Linked DNA regions of Homo sapiens: all the other regions are linked to region 3. Evidence: promoter capture Hi-C in human tissues and cell types (Jung and others, 2019). All regions are on one chromosome and are shown on one strand. The core of a region is centred on a gene start or on the middle of the fragment in contact, and the rest is flanking DNA. Distances in the headings are between cores, read along the strand shown. Region 1 overlaps KCNJ6 (potassium inwardly rectifying channel subfamily J member 6). Region 2 overlaps KCNJ6 (potassium inwardly rectifying channel subfamily J member 6). Region 3 holds the start of KCNJ6 (potassium inwardly rectifying channel subfamily J member 6). Region 4 overlaps KCNJ6 (potassium inwardly rectifying channel subfamily J member 6). Region 5 has its middle 97 kb from the start of DSCR4.

Region 1 (3,378 bases), core at 592-3,091, 110 kb after region 3:
TACACTCAATGTTCCCGACATATGGGGTAAGTGTAGGTCATTAGCTGTTGAAAGCTTTCCCCAAATGCTCAAATAGGTTAGCAACTTAAAAATAAGCCAATCTTCATAGCAATTTCCTGAGAAAATGGAGAAAGAAATTGAAAAACAACCTTTCTAAATTGTTACAAAATTTTTAAAATAAATGATGCTGAGAAAGAAAATGGTTTGCATATCCTATTGAAAGTTATTCCCATTTACTACTCCCAAAATAATAAAACAATATAATCTGTAAGAATGTTATATGCCTTTACAGAAGGTTTATCAGTCACTTCACTGAAAAAAACTGAATGCAAAAAATTCCTTAGTTAAGTTTAAGGTTTAGTTATTTTTATGTTTCATTTATTGGTTATATTACTCATCTCAGCAATTTATTACTCTCAAAAGAGCAAAAATACACTGCACACATTAAAATATTATCGTTGTTCTATTGATCACAGAAAATGTTTATATTTGTGAATTTAGATCAGGATTGTATAGTTAATGACTAGAAAATGGAGATAATGAATTTTTCATTCACAACTTGAGTTTGTAAGGTAAGTAGATCCTGATCACTTGCCAAATAAACTTGAAACGTCCTCCTGATATTTGAAAGCTGTCTGATCAATAAATCTCCTCAGCATGATCAAGGGGAGGAAGACCTTACAATCATAAAGACCCGGGGAGGGGGGAATTCTGGCTTTGCTATTTACTACGTGACCTTGGACATCCAAGGTCCAGAGGCCCATCTCTGTTTTCATGCCAATTGTCTATTTTGCAGAAATGTGGATAAGAATGCTCATAACATAGGGTCCTTGAGAGAAATAAATTATACCACATACACAGTGCCTGACTCATAGTAGGCTCTCGAAGAGGCTCATTTCTCTTTCCTATCTCCTTTCATTAACTCAGAGTTGAAATATCTGAAGTAAATCCTCAGTCCCCATCCGCTATCTACCTGGGGTAAACAACTTCATCTCTTGCTGAAGTTCTCACTTGTAAAAGCAGGAACTAACTATTCCATTTTTTATCAGCCAGTTGCTGGGGCTTCTTTCCATGTCAGCCATCACAGATCACATAGAAGCAGAAGAGTAATTCACTCAACAAACATGTTTGGGCTTCCGTGTGCCAGATTTCATGTTAGAACGCTATATTAGTTTCCTAGGGTGACTGCAACAAACTATCACAAAGTGGGCACTTAAAACAACAGAAATTTATTCACTTGCAGGTCTGGAGGCCAGAAGTTTGTAATTCAGATGTCAACAGGGTCATGCTGTCGCTGAAGGCTCTAGGGGAGTGTCCTTCCTGGCCTCTTCCGACTCCTCGTGGTTGACAGAGATCCTTGGCATTCCTTGGCTTGCAGACGCATCACTGCAGCTCTGCCACTGTCATCACACACCACACATCTGCCTGTGTGTCTTCACATTATCATCCCTCTGTGCCTTTCTCTGTGTCCAAATTTACCTCTTCTCATAAGTACACCAGTCATTGGATTAAGACACTCCTTAATCTAGTCCGAACTCATCTTAATTTGATCACTTCTGCAAATGCCTTATTTCAAATAAAGTCACATCCTTTTGGTAACACAAATCAATAAACAAGAAGGGAACACAGCAGGGACTTCAGGGGGCTCATGGCCAGAAAGGCAGGCTCAGAGAGCAAAGAAATAAAATTCAGGATGCAAAGGGTAGCAAGAGACCCTTGTCCCAGCTGCTCAGGAAGTGATAACACCAAACGCCAAATGGGGAAGGAAGAGGCAGCTCAGATTGACAGAGCGTATTTTTTTTATTTTTATCATCATCTTTACTAAAATAATACAATTTAAGATTCAAGCAGAAGACAGGACCACCTTGGAACCCCAGTATCACTCCCCAGAAGTGATATTTTTCTCATACAATTATTTTCATTGAAATATAATTCACATATCGCAAAATTCACACTTGTAAAGTATACAATTCAGTGTGTTTTGGTGTCTTCACAAATTCATGCAACCATCACCACAATCTAATGCCAGAACATTTCTATCACCCCAAAAAGAAACTCTGTCTTTATTAGCAGTCATTCCACCTGCCCCCTTTCCTGGCAATCCCTTATCTCTTTTCTGTCTCTATGGATTTCCTGTTGTGAATATTTCATATAAATAGACTTGCACAATAGATGGTCTGTTGTGTCTAGTTTCTTTTATTTAGCATAATGTTATCAAGGTTCATCCATGTTCATTCCTTTTTATAGCTAAATAATATTCCATTGTACCACATCATAATTATCCATTCATCAGTTTGGTTGTTTCCACTTTTTTGGCTGTTGTGAATAGTAGTGCCTACTCACTATAGTAAAGACATAGACTCAACAATGCCCATCAATGATAGACTGGGTAAAGAAAATGTGGTACATATACACCATGGAATACTATAAAGCCATAAAAAATAATGAGACCATATCCTTTGCAGGAACATGGATGGAGCTGTAGGCCATTATCCTTACCAAGCTAATGCAGGAACAGAAAACCAAATACCGCATGTTCTCACTTATAAGGGGGAGCTAAATGATAATACATGGACACACAGAGGGGAACAACCTCTACTGGAGCCTATTAGAGGGTGGAGGATGGGAGGAGGGAGAAGATCAGGAAAAATAACTAATGGGTACTAGGCTTAATACCTGAGTGATGAAATAATCTGTACAACAAACCCCCATGACACAAGTTTACCTGTATAAAAAACCTGCACACGTACCCCTGAAATTAAAATAAAGTTAAATAAAATAAAAATTAAAAAAGAATAGTAGTGCTATGAATATCCACATAGTAATTTTTGTGTGGACATAGGTTTTTAATTTTGGGGGGTATGCACCTAGGAGTGGAACTGCTGGGTCATGTGGTAATTCAATGTTTAACCTTTTGAGGAACTGCCAACCTGTTTTCCACAGAAGCTGCACCATTTTACAATCCTACAAACAATGAGTGTTGCAATTTCCCCACATCCTTGTCAACACTTGTTATTATCTGTCTTTCTGATTAGAGTCATCCTAGTGGGTGTGAAAGTGGTTTTGATTTGCACTTCCCTAGTGACTAACGATGCATCTTTTCTGGTGCTCATGGCAGATTTTAATATCTCCTTTGAAGAAATGTCTATTAAAATCCTTTCCCCATTTTTTTAACTGGGGGCAGAGTATTTTTGCTCACAGGGATTTTGAGCTCAGAAATAAAATTCAAAGTGGGAGACTTGGATAGAAGCGAAGGGCAGGCAACATCAGCAAAAGCTTTCCCCAAAAGGACGCCCCTTCTGTGAGCCCTCCCCTCTATCCAGTGTCCCTGGTCCCATGAAGGAGTGAGATGGTGAGGACACAGTCAAAAGGTGAGCC
Region 2 (3,479 bases), core at 525-3,024, 95 kb after region 3:
TTTAATTGACTCACAGTTCCACATGGCTGGGGAGGCCCCAAGAAACTTACAATCATGGCGAAAGGGGAACCAGGCACCTTCTTCACATGGCGGCAGGAGAGAAAGAGTGAGAGTGTGTAGGAGGAAATGTCAAACACTTATAAAACCATCAGATCTCATGATAACTCACTAACTATCAGAAGAACAGCATGGGGGAAGGAGCCTCCATGATCCAATCACCTCCCACCAGGTCCCTCCCTTGACATGTGGGGATTATGGAGATTATAATTTGAGATGAGATTTGGGTGGGGACACAAAGCCAAACCATGTCATATGGGTTGGACTCTTTAGATTCCACATGTAAGTGAGATCATGCAGTATTTGTCCTTCTGTACCTGGTTTATTTCACTTCACATAATGTGCTCCAGGTTCATCCATGTTGTTGCAAGTGACAGAATTTCCTTCTTTTCCAAATCCTATGTTTATTGCAGCATTTTTCTGGAGCCTCAGGTGTGCCCAGAGCCTAAGTCTGAGGGCTCTGGCCTGGTGTTGGGGTGGCCGTGGGGGCTGGTTCGGCAGGTGCTGGCCTGCAGACTGGGGCTGGGGGCCTGCCTGCCATCTCTCTCCATGCTGTGCTGCTCGGGTTTAGGGGAGGGTGACACAGGTTATGTGAATCTGTCCCTCCCTCTTCAACATGTCCTTTCTTATTTCTGTGCTAACCCCTGGTGCTATAGTCTCTTGCCTGGTTTCCTTAGCTCTTGTGAAGGAATTTTCATGCATGACAAGTTGTTCAAAGTGATGTTTCGATGAAGGAATGAGGACTGAAAAGTCTTATTCCACCCCCTGCTGACATCACTCTCGAGTCCCCCGTTTTGGTGTCAATTCCACTGAAACATTCTGAGCTGTCATATAAGACCCAATCTAAATATTTATTAAAAGTGATTTAAGTCTATGGCTTCTTGACAGAGCCATAGGTTCTTTTCCTCAGTGAACCTGAGACCAATAGTGGGTTTTACATCCTCACAAAAGACAATCAAAATCGAATCCATAGAGATTAGAGGTCTATGAGAAGTTCCCACTCACTTGTCTATGTGAGCAGGCTCCAACAAAGCCATAGACCCCAATATAAAGCATCCTCTCAACAAAAATATGCCTCTCAATGCTGAGTAGGAACACAGAAGGCGTTTCTTTTGACAGATAATTTCCCGCATAAAACAATAGCCCGTACCCATTCAGAGGCTTCAGGAGCAGAGAGCTGAGTGGGTTTTCAGGAACAGCTCCCAGCTTGTAGGAGCCCCAGAGCTGTCCTGGGATATTGGCTGCTGTCTGGTGTTGGGGGAAAAAATGGAACCAGGCACTTGGGCACAGCCCTGGCAGCACCCCCACCTTCCCCATCCACGAGGAATGGGTGCCTATCAGAGGAGATTGGGCATGTTCAGAGTGGTATGGCCATAGACAACAGGTGCCTATCAAACCACGACCCACTCTTCATTGTGAAATGGTGTCTGCAAGCCACTCCCCAGCTCCTAGCATGACAAGGGACCTGTCATCCTCCACGTGCAGCCAGATTGTTATTACATCTGTCTCTCCAAACAGCAACTCTGGGAAGCTAGCTCACCTGAGAATAGTAGCTTCAGGTTGCAGTTCAGTTCAACCTGGCTCACCTGAAGCAGTGTGAGAAATACTTATTTTAACAAACAGGTGTGACAGCTCCTCTGTGTTGATTATCCTCCTCTGGTGGAATCTTCACATTGACTCAGATATGCAGTCATGTCTCTGGCTGGTCATGACTAATGCCTGCTAAAGAAATCTTTAAAATAATACAACCATTAGACAATATAATTCTAATCCAAAACCATTACAGGAAAACTGTCATTCAGCATTTACTAGGATTTGCTGTGTGTCTGCCATTCTTTCTGGATAAAATAAAGGATATAGATTCTATTTATAGAGTAGAATTTACTATTTGATTAACCAGACCCAGTAGACTAAAGTCTTCCTATAACCATATACAATACATTTAGGAAAAATGAGAAAGTGATAAAGAAATAAAGTACCCTAACACAGTTGGCATAAGTAGGTGTTAAGTGGACGACTGATAACAAAGATTTCATTTAAAAATAATTACCTTCTGGAACACATGGACACAGGGAGGGAAACAACACACATTGGGGCCTGTTGGGGGGGCAGGGGAAAGGAGAGCATCAGGATAAATAGCTAATGCATGTGGGGCTTAATACCTAGGTGATGGGTTGATAGGTGCAGCAAACCACCATGACACGCTTACCTATATAACAAACCTGCATGTCCTTCATGGATAACCTAGAATGTAAAATTAAATTTTAAAAAATTAAGAAATAAAAAAATTGCCTTCTGAAGGAGAGAATTGCTAAGTGAGTACAGGATTTCCTTTTGGGTTGTTGAAAATGGGAACTAGATGGAGGTAGTGGTTATACAGCATTGTGCAACAATGTAGGTAACGTTTACTTTAAGTTAAAATTGTCAATTTTTTGTTATGTGAAATTCACCTAAATAAAAAAGTTATTTTCCATATTATGTGCTATTATACTGGGGTCAGAACAAATTTAGTCACACCTTCACAAAACCATGCAACAGTGGTTGTGATAATATTTGCAAGAGGAGACATGGCAAGAATGAGCATCATTAATGGGAGATAAGTATCTGTCACACTCTCCTAAGATAGAAAAACCAGCTGAAACATTTTAAATAGAAGATTAGTATCTGTCACACTCTCTTAAGACAGGAAAGCCAGCTAAAACGTTTTTAAGTTTTTCAACAAGAAATAATATTGAACACAGAGGGTTATTTTCTACTTAAGACATTGTTCACAAGAAAATCCAACTAGTCAAAACAAGGCACATCCCTCAAGGGCTGCCAACATATACCTCATGGTTTTTGGTCAGTGTATCTCCTAAGTTCTTATATCCTAAGCTCTTCAGAAAAGCAAATAAAATAATAATAAGCTTTCAAAAAGAAACAAATTATCTGAATATTTGGGTTTGCCAAAGTGATGAGGAGTAAGAACAAGGTTAATAACATTGACATGGCACTTTCTTGAGTTCTGTTAGTCATTCTAGTAAATTATGGAACCTGAATGGGTCATACGAACCCCAGAATTCGTAGCAGGAAGTTTGATCAGAACATAGGTCAGAAGTGAGGATAGCCTAGGATCCCCGATGTGCTGCTGACATCTGAAGCAGTGTCATCCAAATGCAGTGCAAAATGGCAGACACACAGCAAATCCATAGTAAATCTGTGGCTTCCAGGACAGAGTCCCTAATCTGTGAAGTCTAACTCCAGGTGGTTAGTGTCAGAATTGAATTGCAGCACACCCAGCTTTGAGCAGGAACATGTACTTCAACAGATCAATCCGAAACAATTAAAAAGAATCAGAATACAGTTTTAAAGAGTTTATTCAAGCAAAAAGCTGGGAGTAGCCATCCGGAAAAGAGACTCCACATAAATGGGTCAGCGCTTCA
Region 3 (3,459 bases), core at 197-2,696:
TATTTGTAACACTATCACTAGATCCAGCAGGCATTGTGGAGCACGTATTACACATACTACAGATATTACACATACTCATATCTTCTGTATATGGGATATATGACTCAGAAGTAATAGCAAGTCAGATTACAACCTCTTAGGGAAAATCAACAGCAAATACAAGCTCACAGGCCGTGTGTACGGTTGACTTTTACATGACTTTGGATGCAAATTGACACAAACACCTCTCCATATTACAGTCATTTTTAGAGGGCAGACAGCATTCTTGAGGGGACCTGAATTGCTAGGTAATTAAAATGTATGTATGTAGAATAAAATAATCTTGGAAATAAGAGGTTTCCGTAAGCCTTCTCTCTAAAATAAGGTCACCTTCTTTGAGGTAGAGATTCTGTGCCTTGTGGAAGGAAAGCCACTTCATAAAGCAGCACAAGAATAGCCAGTTATTGAAAGGGCCATTATAAAATTACTAGCCAATGGTATTCGCTACTCTTACAATTTGTCAATCCATTCATCCCTAGGAAAAAGACAGCATAAAAGAGAGTTCTGTTCATAGGTAGAAGCAATTTATGGGAAGACTTTGGAAATGTAGAACCATTGTTTTTGATGACCATAAGAAAAAGAGGGGGTGCAAGAGGGGAGCACTATGAGGGGCCCCTGGAATAACAGCACAAAGCAAGTTAGATTCAAAGAGTGGAGTAGACCTTTGTCTAAGGGGCTTATCCTGACAAATTCAACTTTGAAGGCAGCCTGGGTCATTCTTGGAAAAGGCCATTCTTTGTCTCCAGTGACCCCAGAGACATCATATAAGGATGGGGTGATGATGCAGCAGCCGGGACCAGGTCCCAGTTGCAGTGGACAGGACAGAAGGGACTGAATGGGGCAGCAGGCTGGGGCGCCACCAGGTGCAAGCAAAGCTCAGGGATAGGGCCCCTCCCCTCCGTCCCGGCCGCTCGCTGCGCCCCCTCTGGGCGGTGCAGGCTCCGGCTCCCGCGCCGGGGCTGCCTCTCACGGATTTCAGCCCGGTGGGAGGCAGTGCCCAGAGCCTCTTTTTCCTTATCTCACAAAACCCTAAAAGCCGAACCCCTACAACCAGCAGACAAAACTGCTCCCCGAGCTTCGGCTCTTTCCTGCTTTCCAGGCGTTTCTCCGGGAATAACTTACTTAGTGGCACTGGGAGAAAGGTTGGGACTGGGGGGTCGGGGACCGAAACCCAAAAGATTCCCCCAGCATGGAGCACCCACGTTTCCAGTGGCGGGGGATGCACGTTGGTTTGTGCCCAGCCCGCCCCCACCAAGCCCGGTCCTCGACGCGCTGACACGCTAGCTGGCATGGGCGGCGGGGTGGGCGTCTCTGGGTCTGTGGCTCTGTCCTGCTCGCCCCCGCCCCTTCCTCCCGGACCGCGCCGGCGCTGTGCGGCTTTTTCCCCAGCACGCGGCGCTGCACTCGCTTTTATCTCGGAGCCGCGTCGCTTCGTGCGCTGCCAGCGGGGCTCAGCCAGTCGGCTGGAATTGAGTAGCATTCATTGAATCTGCGGATTTCATGACGTCTCTCTGCGTGGTCCACCACTTTTCTCCTAACCGGGGATTTTTTTTTTCTTCTGCCACTCTTATCTTTCCCCACTTCATTCCACCCAGTCTCCCTCCCCCGTCCCTGCCCAAACGCGCGCCCCTCCGCCCCTCCCTTGGCCCCAGCGCCCAGCCCTGCTCTCCGCGCTCGGCCAGAGGGAGCCAGTCCGGAGACGGCCGCACCTGGCTGGAGAGGCTGGGCGGGCGGAGGGGTGGAGACCCGCGGACGCCGGGAAGCCGGACCTGGAGCCGGAGCAGCCGCGAGCAGAATGGAGTCTCCTAACAGCCTCTCGGTGCTGATGTGAAATTTGACCATCTGATTCCAGTTTTTTTCTTTTCCTTTTCTTTTTTGCATTTCCTTCCCTCGCCATCCGTCGTGTAGTGAATTGTTCAGTCTTGCTCCGTTTCAAGAGAGGAGATCATGATTGAGTGAAGCCACCCCGTCCGCAGCCAGGTAAGCGGTGCGCTGAGCTGCTCGCAGGCGAGGAGCTGGCGTCCACCTGGGCGAGGCGTTCCGTGCTCTCGGGTCCCCGCGTCCCCTTCCCCAGCTCCGCCGTCGCCGCAGGCATCTCCACTCTCATGAGAAACATTGTGCCCAAGTCAGCCGAAAGGCGAGGGAGAAGCCGGTTACATAACAGAAGGGGAATCTGTTTCATACGGTTTTCATTAGCGACTGAAACTCGCACGGGGGGCGGGGGAAGGAGGGGTCTGCATCCCTGGGCTCGCAGAAACCCAGTCAGTTATTGCAGACATCATTTCAACATCCGCTGGCAAAGACTTAAATGCACTGATTAACTGACAGGTGCGGCTTGTGATGTAGTCATTTACAGTTGGGAAAAGCCTATTGTCTTTGTGGAAGGCAGTCTTCTTGTTCTGCTTTGCATGGAGAGGAGAGGAGACAACACGAAAGGGAGGAAAAGTGAGGGTTGGGGAGAAACATGCGGAGAATGGGAAACAGAATACTGTAACTCCTAACTGTTCTCTATCCTTAAAACCGAAGATGTGCTAGCATGACTAAAAACAGTGAATAGGAAGATCTTCCTAGGAGTAAACTGAATTATTTTGTAATTGGAAGGGAAGAAAAAACACTTTAGATAAAATGAGATGTGTGTGGCATTTAGAGGACTGGGTGGCTGTGGATATTTGCTTCCCTGTGGATATATTTTCATTTTCATCAAAACATTAAGCTTGGATTAGTTTTTAAGTGAAATAACATCAGTATTCCCAAAACCCAATAAAAGCCCAGTGGATCCACAGGTACATCTGTTGTACTAGGTGCAATATGGAGAGATTGTCAGGGGGAAAATATATCTTAATAGAAACAGCCACAGAGGGTGAGGTTAGTGGAGAAACAAAATACCAGAATTTTCCAAAGAATTCCGCCTCCAACCCCCAAAAAAAGGAAGAGAAAAAAAAAAAAACCCCACAACTCCAGTGTTTGGGAGTTGGAGATGTATTATATGTTTAGAGTGTTTCCCAACTGCTGTTATCCAAAGTCTGTCGGTCCCGGGGAGCCCTACGGTACAGGGAGCAATGCCACATCCTGCTAGCCCTGTTCCCTGCCTGCCTTTCTTTTGCTGAAAAAAAGAAACGGAAAAGGGTGATGCCCAGGAACTGCTTAGGGAGAAAAAAGGGCTTGCTACAGTCAGGGCTGAGCTAACTGAGCTTCGCCCATTTTGCCTGGAGAAAGAAAAAGAGCTCGAGTCTCCATGGCGACCCAGGTGGGAGGGGAGACCGCAGCTCCAGTTATAGGGGAAAAAAATTGGACAAAACTTTCCCGGCTCCAGGCAAAGGAATACGCCAGCCGCGTGCCCTGTGGCGGGTCCCAGGGCATCGGTTGTGCCCAACTCCCTGACGGCGACGCTCGAGAGGGCGCCCAGAGCTGGCCGGGTGC
Region 4 (3,720 bases), core at 174-2,673, 69 kb after region 3:
GATGTTTTTACCCCAAATTGTGAAAATTTCAGATTATTTTAGAAACTTTAACTGAGTATATCAGTGGTGAAAACTAACTTTACTCTAAAAAAATGGTACCCCATCCTGATAGGCAAGTTCTTTACTCTTCAAATCTGCTAGTCCCCGGGCTCACAGGAGAGCACACTCATTGGGTTTTGCCTCCACATCTCCCACCATCTTCCTTGGCTCACCAGCGTGGGTTGCCACGGTCTTCACACAGGCACCTTCCTCCTCCCACTGGTTTGCCACAACTCCAGCCCTGGCCTCCCTCCTGAGCAGCTGTCTGGCCTCCAGGGACCTCCAGGGCTTATGTCCTCATTGTCCATGCCAGCCTCCTGCTCTTCTTCTCACACCAAGCCTTGGTCCCCCTGTGACCTGCTGCTCCTCACGCACCAAGCTTCCCCACCTTTCCTCATGCCATTTCTCCATCTGGAGTATTCTTCCTTGCCCTCCCCTCTCCCATCACTCTTCTTCCCCTCCTTCACACCTTGAAGCTGCTTCCTCCGTGAGGCACACCCTGGTTCTGTGAGTTAGAACTACATTTTCTCCAGTCTCATTCTCTGTCTCTATTCTGTTTCTCCCCCTCCTTCTCCCCCTCCCTTCTCTCCTCTCTCTCTCCCTCTCTCTCTCTGTCTCTCCCTTTCTCTTTGCTCCCTCTGTTCCTCTTTCTATCGATGTCCTGTAGAACCCTTCTGGTGTTTTACCCTTGATACCACATATTGCAGCTATTTCTCTACACATCTTGCCTTCTGGACCAAACTGGAAGCTCTCTGAAGGCAGGTGTAAAGCTGGCTTTACCTGGATGTCCTCTTCTATCCAGTGTCCATCTTGTGCACATCAATAAATTTTCAGCATCGGATGATTGAAGAAGGATCTTAGACCTGGATTCTCACTGCTGCCTTCAGCATGAACGGCCTTCATTTCTAGGACTTCTCACCAGTTCCTAGGGTTGCAGGTGGCACCGTGGCTGAGAGAGTGCAGGTGCAGAAAGAAGACTTGTTGGGTTTCATGCTCAACTCTACTCCTCACCAGCCGTGTGATCTGGCATGATCTGCTGAACCTCTCTGTGCCTCAGTTTCCCCATCCTCAAAGTAGAGAAGACAGTACCATTTCACAGGGTCCTTGTGAGAATTAAGGAGATAGTCTAATGTACTAATGCAGTGACAGGCTATAATAAATGTGAAGTAAACATTAGGAGTTACTATTTTTATATATTTTCATATTATATTTTTATGTATTTTATATTTATATTGCCCCAAACCATACTTGCATACCGACTACTCATTTCCATTTGTTTTTCATTAGGCAAAAAACTAATTAGTGATTCTTAAATGCTGTGGCCTATATTTTTCGGCAGCAACTCAAGGCAACATAAATGATGCTGTACTAAGAGAACACTCACTTGCTTGGCTATCTGAGGATGTGGCATTTTCCATTTAAATCAGTCCTCAGGTGACCTGCCATGGCACCGTGTCAGGGAAGAGGAGGGGGGAAGGTGAGGAGGGGCCAGGGCTGGTGCATTTGTTGAGAACCTGAAGAACAGGGCGGGAGATTTGAGGGCTCCTGGTTTAACCAGAGGTGAGGCCCTGTTGAGGATACTAAGTTCATAAAATGGCTTTATCGTTTCCTACTTTGCATAAATGTTTCTTTAAATGGTTGTATTTTGGGAAAAAAATCACAGTTTTCTGATGAATACAAGCACACATTTTAGAGAGATAAAAATATCTGAGATGCAAATATAACCGGTTTGAAATATATCAACCATGATGAGTTTCCCCCTCATCCTTAAAAGCCTACTTCTGGGTAGCAGAAAGCAAGGCAGCACCACCGAAAATGCAGACCTCACTGGGTTCTGCCAGCTCCTGTCCTCTGTCTGAGGGAGCCCCATGCAGCAGAAAAAAACCCTTTCTACCCTTTCTAGATACTCTGCATTCATGAATCAATCTCCTCTTCCCCATCCTCCTCTCTCCCTCACACACACACACACACACACACACACACACACACACACACACACACACACAGAGTGTCTCAGCCTTAGCTCTGAGCTAAAGTCAGACTGTTATAATTGCCCTCATTAAAAACACCTCTGTCATTTTAGACACTCAAAGAGAAGTATGTAGCTGGCATGGACTCAGTAGAAAGCCATACTCTCTTTAGCTGAAACAGATGTGGGAGTATAAATTACACACACACCCCCACAAGCAAGTTGCTGAGCCTTTATTTACTTCCCCAGGTGTGGAAGAGGGAATAAAGTTCAGACAGAAAATTAAATGCCCATTGCCCCTGAAAGTCAATGCTCTACCCGAGGAGTTTATGATTTAAACAAGACACTTAACGTTGTTTTTTTTTCAGCATCTGTGAACATGTTTTACTCAAATATATCATCATGATTACCCCAAACGTTTGATGTGTCTATGAATGCCTTTTATTAAATGTACAACAATACGACTTTAAGTGGAGTGCCTCCTAGAGCAAAATAGCATAGCTCTTCCAAGCAGTGTGCCTAGGTTCTGCAGACCTTATATTCTGGAGCAGGGGTGTGGAAATACAGGTGTGGGTTGCATAGTCACCAGCTGTTGACGAGTAGTTCCCTGAGGGGCTGGCAGCCATGGGTCTGGCTAATTTCAGGGAAATTTGCTTTGTTATTTTTGGCACAAATGCTAGAGGTCAATATTTGTCCTCAAATAGCAAGAACAGGTTCTAACTCTGGGTCCCCACACAGTAGCCAAACGGAATAATGATTACAAACCCACACATGGACATTACACTTGACTGTATTTATATACATTGTCTCATTTGTTCCTCAAACAGTCCTGTGAATCAGGCAGTGCAAATTCCACCTATCCCCACTTCACAGATGAGAAAATTAGAGCTTCCAAGATTAGTTAATGAGTGAATAAGAAGTGGTAAAACCATGACAAAAACCTTTCTAGACCCAGGCTTCCAAACTCTTATACATGTGCTCTCTTTCTCTCTCTCCCCGCCACTCTCTCTACGAACATCCAAGTGGGATAGACACAATAAGCAAGAACAAAAAATTTTCAGGCCAAAGTAAGTTCTTTTCTCCCAACAAGTATGATTCCTGCTTTTCTGATTTTCTTTTCATTTTAAAAGAACATGAGATGATTACCTCTGATATAAAAACCCTTGGCTCCCCCAGGGAAAGACATTTTTAACACAAGTTCATGAAACAAATATATCTGTCTTTTTCACCTTAAAATACCACCAATAATCACAGTCTATCAAAGCATGTTCAGGTATCCTCTTCATGTTGCTGACTTCCGCGGGAGTAAGGGATGGGGGACGGGGCAGAAAACAGCAAGCAGCGGACCACTTCTGAAATGAGCACACCAGGAAACAGTAGCTCCAAAAGTAAAATGACTTGTCCAGGTTCCTAGGGAGGTTTAGTGGTCAGGGCTTCTGGTCTACCACACACTACCTCCCAGCCATGACCTCCAGATGAGGCTATTGAGATGGGGCTTTGGAATTTTCCAGAGCTTCCAGAGTCCCTCAATGCCATAACAAATTATACAGTGTGACACATGGATGCATTTGTGCACAAACAAACCTAAAGATAAAACTCAGGAAAATGGTCAGAAAGAGCAGGGGAGCCAGCAGAGACTGGTTGGTGCCCAGCAGAGTTTTTAGGGATGAATTTGGAGAGGACAAGAATGAAGTGGAACTTGGAGTGTCTAG
Region 5 (3,397 bases), core at 715-3,214, 110 kb before region 3:
ATGTATACATTCTGGAAGAAAAAGATAAGGTGAATCAGATGTTTAAGCCATCACCTGGAGCCTCTTGGAGCAAATGTGTTGATTTTTTTTTTTTTTTTTTTTTTTTTTTTTTTTTTGAGACGGAGTCTCGCTGTCGCCCAGGCTGGAGTGCAGTGGCGCAATCTCGGCTCACTGCAAGCTCCGCCTCCTGGGTTCACGCCATTCTCCTGCCTCAGCCTCCCGAGTAGCTGGGACTACAGGCTCCCGCCACCTCGCCTGGCTAATTTTTTGTATTTTTAGTAGAGACGGGGTTTCACCGTGTTAGCCAGGATGGTCTCGATCTCCTGACCTCGTGATCCGCCCACCTCGGCCTCCCAAAGTGCTGGGATTACAGGCGTGAGCCACCGCGCCCGGCCAAATGTGTTGATTTTGAGACTTGCTGGGGACTCTGGGGCTGAAGTTACTGAGGGCAACGTATGGCCACCGGGGTGACCTGCCCTTTTGGATGCCTGTTCTCCATGTTTCTTCCCTGCAGTCTTAAAGGAAAGCACTGATGTAGGGCTTCATTCCTTCATTGCCCCCAGTTCTGCTGGGGAAGCCATGGTACATTATGCCAAGGAGAATAGACTTGGTGTCATGAAATCGCGTGGCATGGTCAGGAAATGGTAACATCTTAAGTGTAACTATAGTCTACAGTTTATAGTGAAAAGCAGAATAAAATTACAGGTGAATCTTGAAAGAAAGCAAGTTCAAACCACAGAGAGTGATGCCAGAGATCTGGGACCTTCTGGGAAACATGCCAGGAGCCCACTGAAGGGTTTCCATCAGGGAAGTAGTGGGATCGGACTGGGATATGGTGAAGCTCCTGTGAAAGAGGACTTCAATTAGGGACTGACAATGAGAATGAAAAAGGAAAAATTATCAATGAAATATGTTCAGTGGATAATACAAAGGGCTTACATTTCTAATGAGATATGGGGCAGGATGGAAAAAAGGGGAGTCAGGGTGGTCCCACTTCTCTTGGGTACATATAGGGCAGATGATGATGATGCTATAAACTAAAGTGGGGGCACGGAAGGCAGCATAAGTTGAGAGGGGTAGAGACAGAACAAGGGAGATAATGAGATCAATTTAGGACAAGATAAAGCTTGAGAAAGGAGGACTATTTGTGCCCCAAGCTCCCTTTGTCCATAATGTGTCCATGGGAGGTGGTAAAGGCAGTGATGGGATCGTCTGGTACACAAGATTTCAATTCCTTGTTACTATTCTGCTCCTTCTCCCTGAAGGGAGACGGTGTGGAAACCTGGAATTCATGGTGTCATATTTTAATACATTGTGCTGTAAAGGCAGGTCTCTCCCTTCTCCTTCTCATCAGTGCAATAGGTCTTCTGTTTCCCTGTTGTCCTTCTTCCTGCTCAGGTATCACAGCCTGTCCTTGCTTTCTGTCTCCTTGCAGCCAGCCACGTGGGTAATACTTGGCTCGGAGCACATGCACCAGAGTGCCAAGGATGGATGCAGGTGGCAGATGGGGGCTGTATTCATGTCCTGTGGCTGCTATAACAAATGACCACAAACTTGCTGCCTTCAGGCAATCGCAGTTCATTCTCCCACAGTTCTGGAGGCCAGAAATTAGAATCACTGGACTATAATCGAGGTGTCAACAGGAAACCCTTTGGTGGCTGCCATCATCCCTTGACTTGTGGGGATGCTATCTTCTAATCTCTTGTCTTCAAGGCCAGAGTCTTCCAACCTCTCTTTGCTCTCCCTTCAAGTCACCTTCTCCTCTGAGTGTTACCAAATCTCCCTCTGCCTCCCTGTTACAAAGAGTACATGTGATTGTACTTAGGACTAGGACTCACTTGGTCATCCAGGAGACTCTGCCCATCTCAAGATTCTTAATTACATCTGTAAAGATCCTTTTTTTATGCCACAAGGTAACATTCACAGATTTCAGGGATTAGGACATGGCTATCTTCGGGGAGGCATTATTCAGCCTCCCACAGAAGCTCTGAGCACTGGGCAAATCTGTGTTCTCCACCCAGGCTTCTCAGAAGCCTTCCATTTGGGTAGGCTTTGGGCACTTGCCCAGCCATTGACAGAATAGTGAGGTCTCTTTTGAAAGAGAGAATCTTCATGGCTACACTGCATTGAACAGAATCCTAGAAAGAGGGAGGAGTCTTAGGCTTAGAACCCTTTCTAGCTAATTATGATGCCTGTAGACTTCTGATAGAGAGATCTAGAACTCATCAGTGATGACCAAAGGCCAAAGAGTGAGCATTTTTCTTAGGGGATGTGTTTAATGACACTAGGGAAAAGCCAAGGACCAAAATCCAACTGTGCTGGAGGCAGCATGACATCAGGTCATCTCCAACCCCCTGGGCTATACCTTGGCAGCCTCCTAACAAACAATCCCCTCTGGGTGGTTGAGGAAGGGTAAATGTGTCTCAGGTCTCCTTCTCCGAACTGCAAAAAGTTCTGCTGTTAGAAGTGGTCACTGGCTGTGAGTGAAATTCATCTTAAGCACTTTTATGTTGTAAGATTTGTGTACACATCTAATAACTTAAAGACTATTTCTAGCGTTGTTTTCAACTACAAATGAGTTCAAACTTGTATTCAACTGACCTAGAAATAAATTTTTCTGGAACAGAGTTCTTCTGTATTTTGAGGGCTGCATTTATTCCAAAAACAAACTTGCCCTAGTTAGGGTACAAAAGAATCCTGACTACATTTACTATAAAGAACACGGTAACAGTGATCGAAGAGACAAGTCAAACTTAAATTATGAGGCTTTTTTTAAGTTCTGTGAAAGCCAGGCGACAGACGAAGACTGCTAGTTGTAAAATCTTCGCCAGTGACATTCACGCCACCAACTCTTTTTAAACTTGTTTGTGAAGTCTGTTTATCTCATTGACTTTCTGACTTCCACGGTACACATCTGAGTGTTTCTACTTGGAATTAGGAAGCCATCCACTTGTAACATCTCATATTTTCAGACTTTTCTATCAAAGAACCCCAGTGTAGCAGGTCAGTGTTTTTCTTGTTTTGTTTACATTTGTCTTATTTCTTTCTTTCTTCCTTTCTTTTTTTTTTTTTTTGTTGAGACGGAGTCTCGCTCTGTCACCCAGGCTGGAGTGCAGTGGCACAATCTTGGCTCACTGCAACCTCCGCCTCCTGGGTTCAAGTGATTCTCCTGCTTCAGCCTCCTGAGTAGCTGGGACTATAAGTGCATGCCACCACGCCCAACTAATTTTTTGTACTTTTAGTAGAGACAGGGTTTCACTATGTTAGCCAGGATGGTCTTGATCTCCTGACCTCATGATCCACCCACATCAGCCTCCCAAAGTGCTGGGATTACAGGCGTGAGCCATCGCGCCCAGCCCGTCTTATTTCTTTTTTATTTAGTAAAACGTACATAACA

The links. Contacts are between HindIII fragments. The study calls those that stand out against the background at their distance.
Region 1: a contact is called between a fragment that was not itself captured here and the fragment with the promoter of KCNJ6 in region 3, in 9 of the 25 tissues and cell types used here (H1 embryonic stem cells, IMR-90 fibroblasts, dorsolateral prefrontal cortex and 6 more).
Region 2: a contact is called between a fragment that was not itself captured here and the fragment with the promoter of KCNJ6 in region 3, in 5 of the 25 tissues and cell types used here (dorsolateral prefrontal cortex, heart right ventricle, mesenchymal stem cells and 2 more).
Region 4: a contact is called between a fragment that was not itself captured here and the fragment with the promoter of KCNJ6 in region 3, in 2 of the 25 tissues and cell types used here (dorsolateral prefrontal cortex and mesenchymal stem cells).
Region 5: a contact is called between a fragment that was not itself captured here and the fragment with the promoter of KCNJ6 in region 3, in 4 of the 25 tissues and cell types used here (bladder, heart right ventricle, mesendoderm cells and 1 more).

The regions. Positions count from the first base shown.
Region 1 is chr21:37,803,822-37,807,199 of GRCh38, reverse strand. The region is part of intron 2 of KCNJ6 (potassium inwardly rectifying channel subfamily J member 6); the gene reads left to right. Among named protein-coding and RNA genes, the nearest start is that of KCNJ6, 110 kb to the left of the region's middle. The HindIII fragment of the contact is 5,208 bases long and covers 1-3,378 here.
Region 2 is chr21:37,820,236-37,823,714 of GRCh38, reverse strand. The region is part of intron 2 of KCNJ6 (potassium inwardly rectifying channel subfamily J member 6); the gene reads left to right. Among named protein-coding and RNA genes, the nearest start is that of KCNJ6, 94 kb to the left of the region's middle. The HindIII fragment of the contact is 9,746 bases long and covers 1-3,479 here.
Region 3 is chr21:37,914,444-37,917,902 of GRCh38, reverse strand. It overlaps KCNJ6 (potassium inwardly rectifying channel subfamily J member 6), which reads left to right and starts at 1,446. Exons shown (of 4, transcript NM_002240.5): 1 at 1,446-2,019. The HindIII fragment of the contact is 8,322 bases long and covers 1-3,228 here.
Region 4 is chr21:37,844,679-37,848,398 of GRCh38, reverse strand. All of the region lies in intron 1 of KCNJ6 (potassium inwardly rectifying channel subfamily J member 6), which reads left to right. Among named protein-coding and RNA genes, the nearest start is that of KCNJ6, 70 kb to the left of the region's middle. The HindIII fragment of the contact is 4,909 bases long and covers 1-3,720 here.
Region 5 is chr21:38,022,736-38,026,132 of GRCh38, reverse strand. No RefSeq gene overlaps it. Among named protein-coding and RNA genes, the nearest start is that of DSCR4, 97 kb to the left of the region's middle. The HindIII fragment of the contact is 3,153 bases long and covers 388-3,397 here.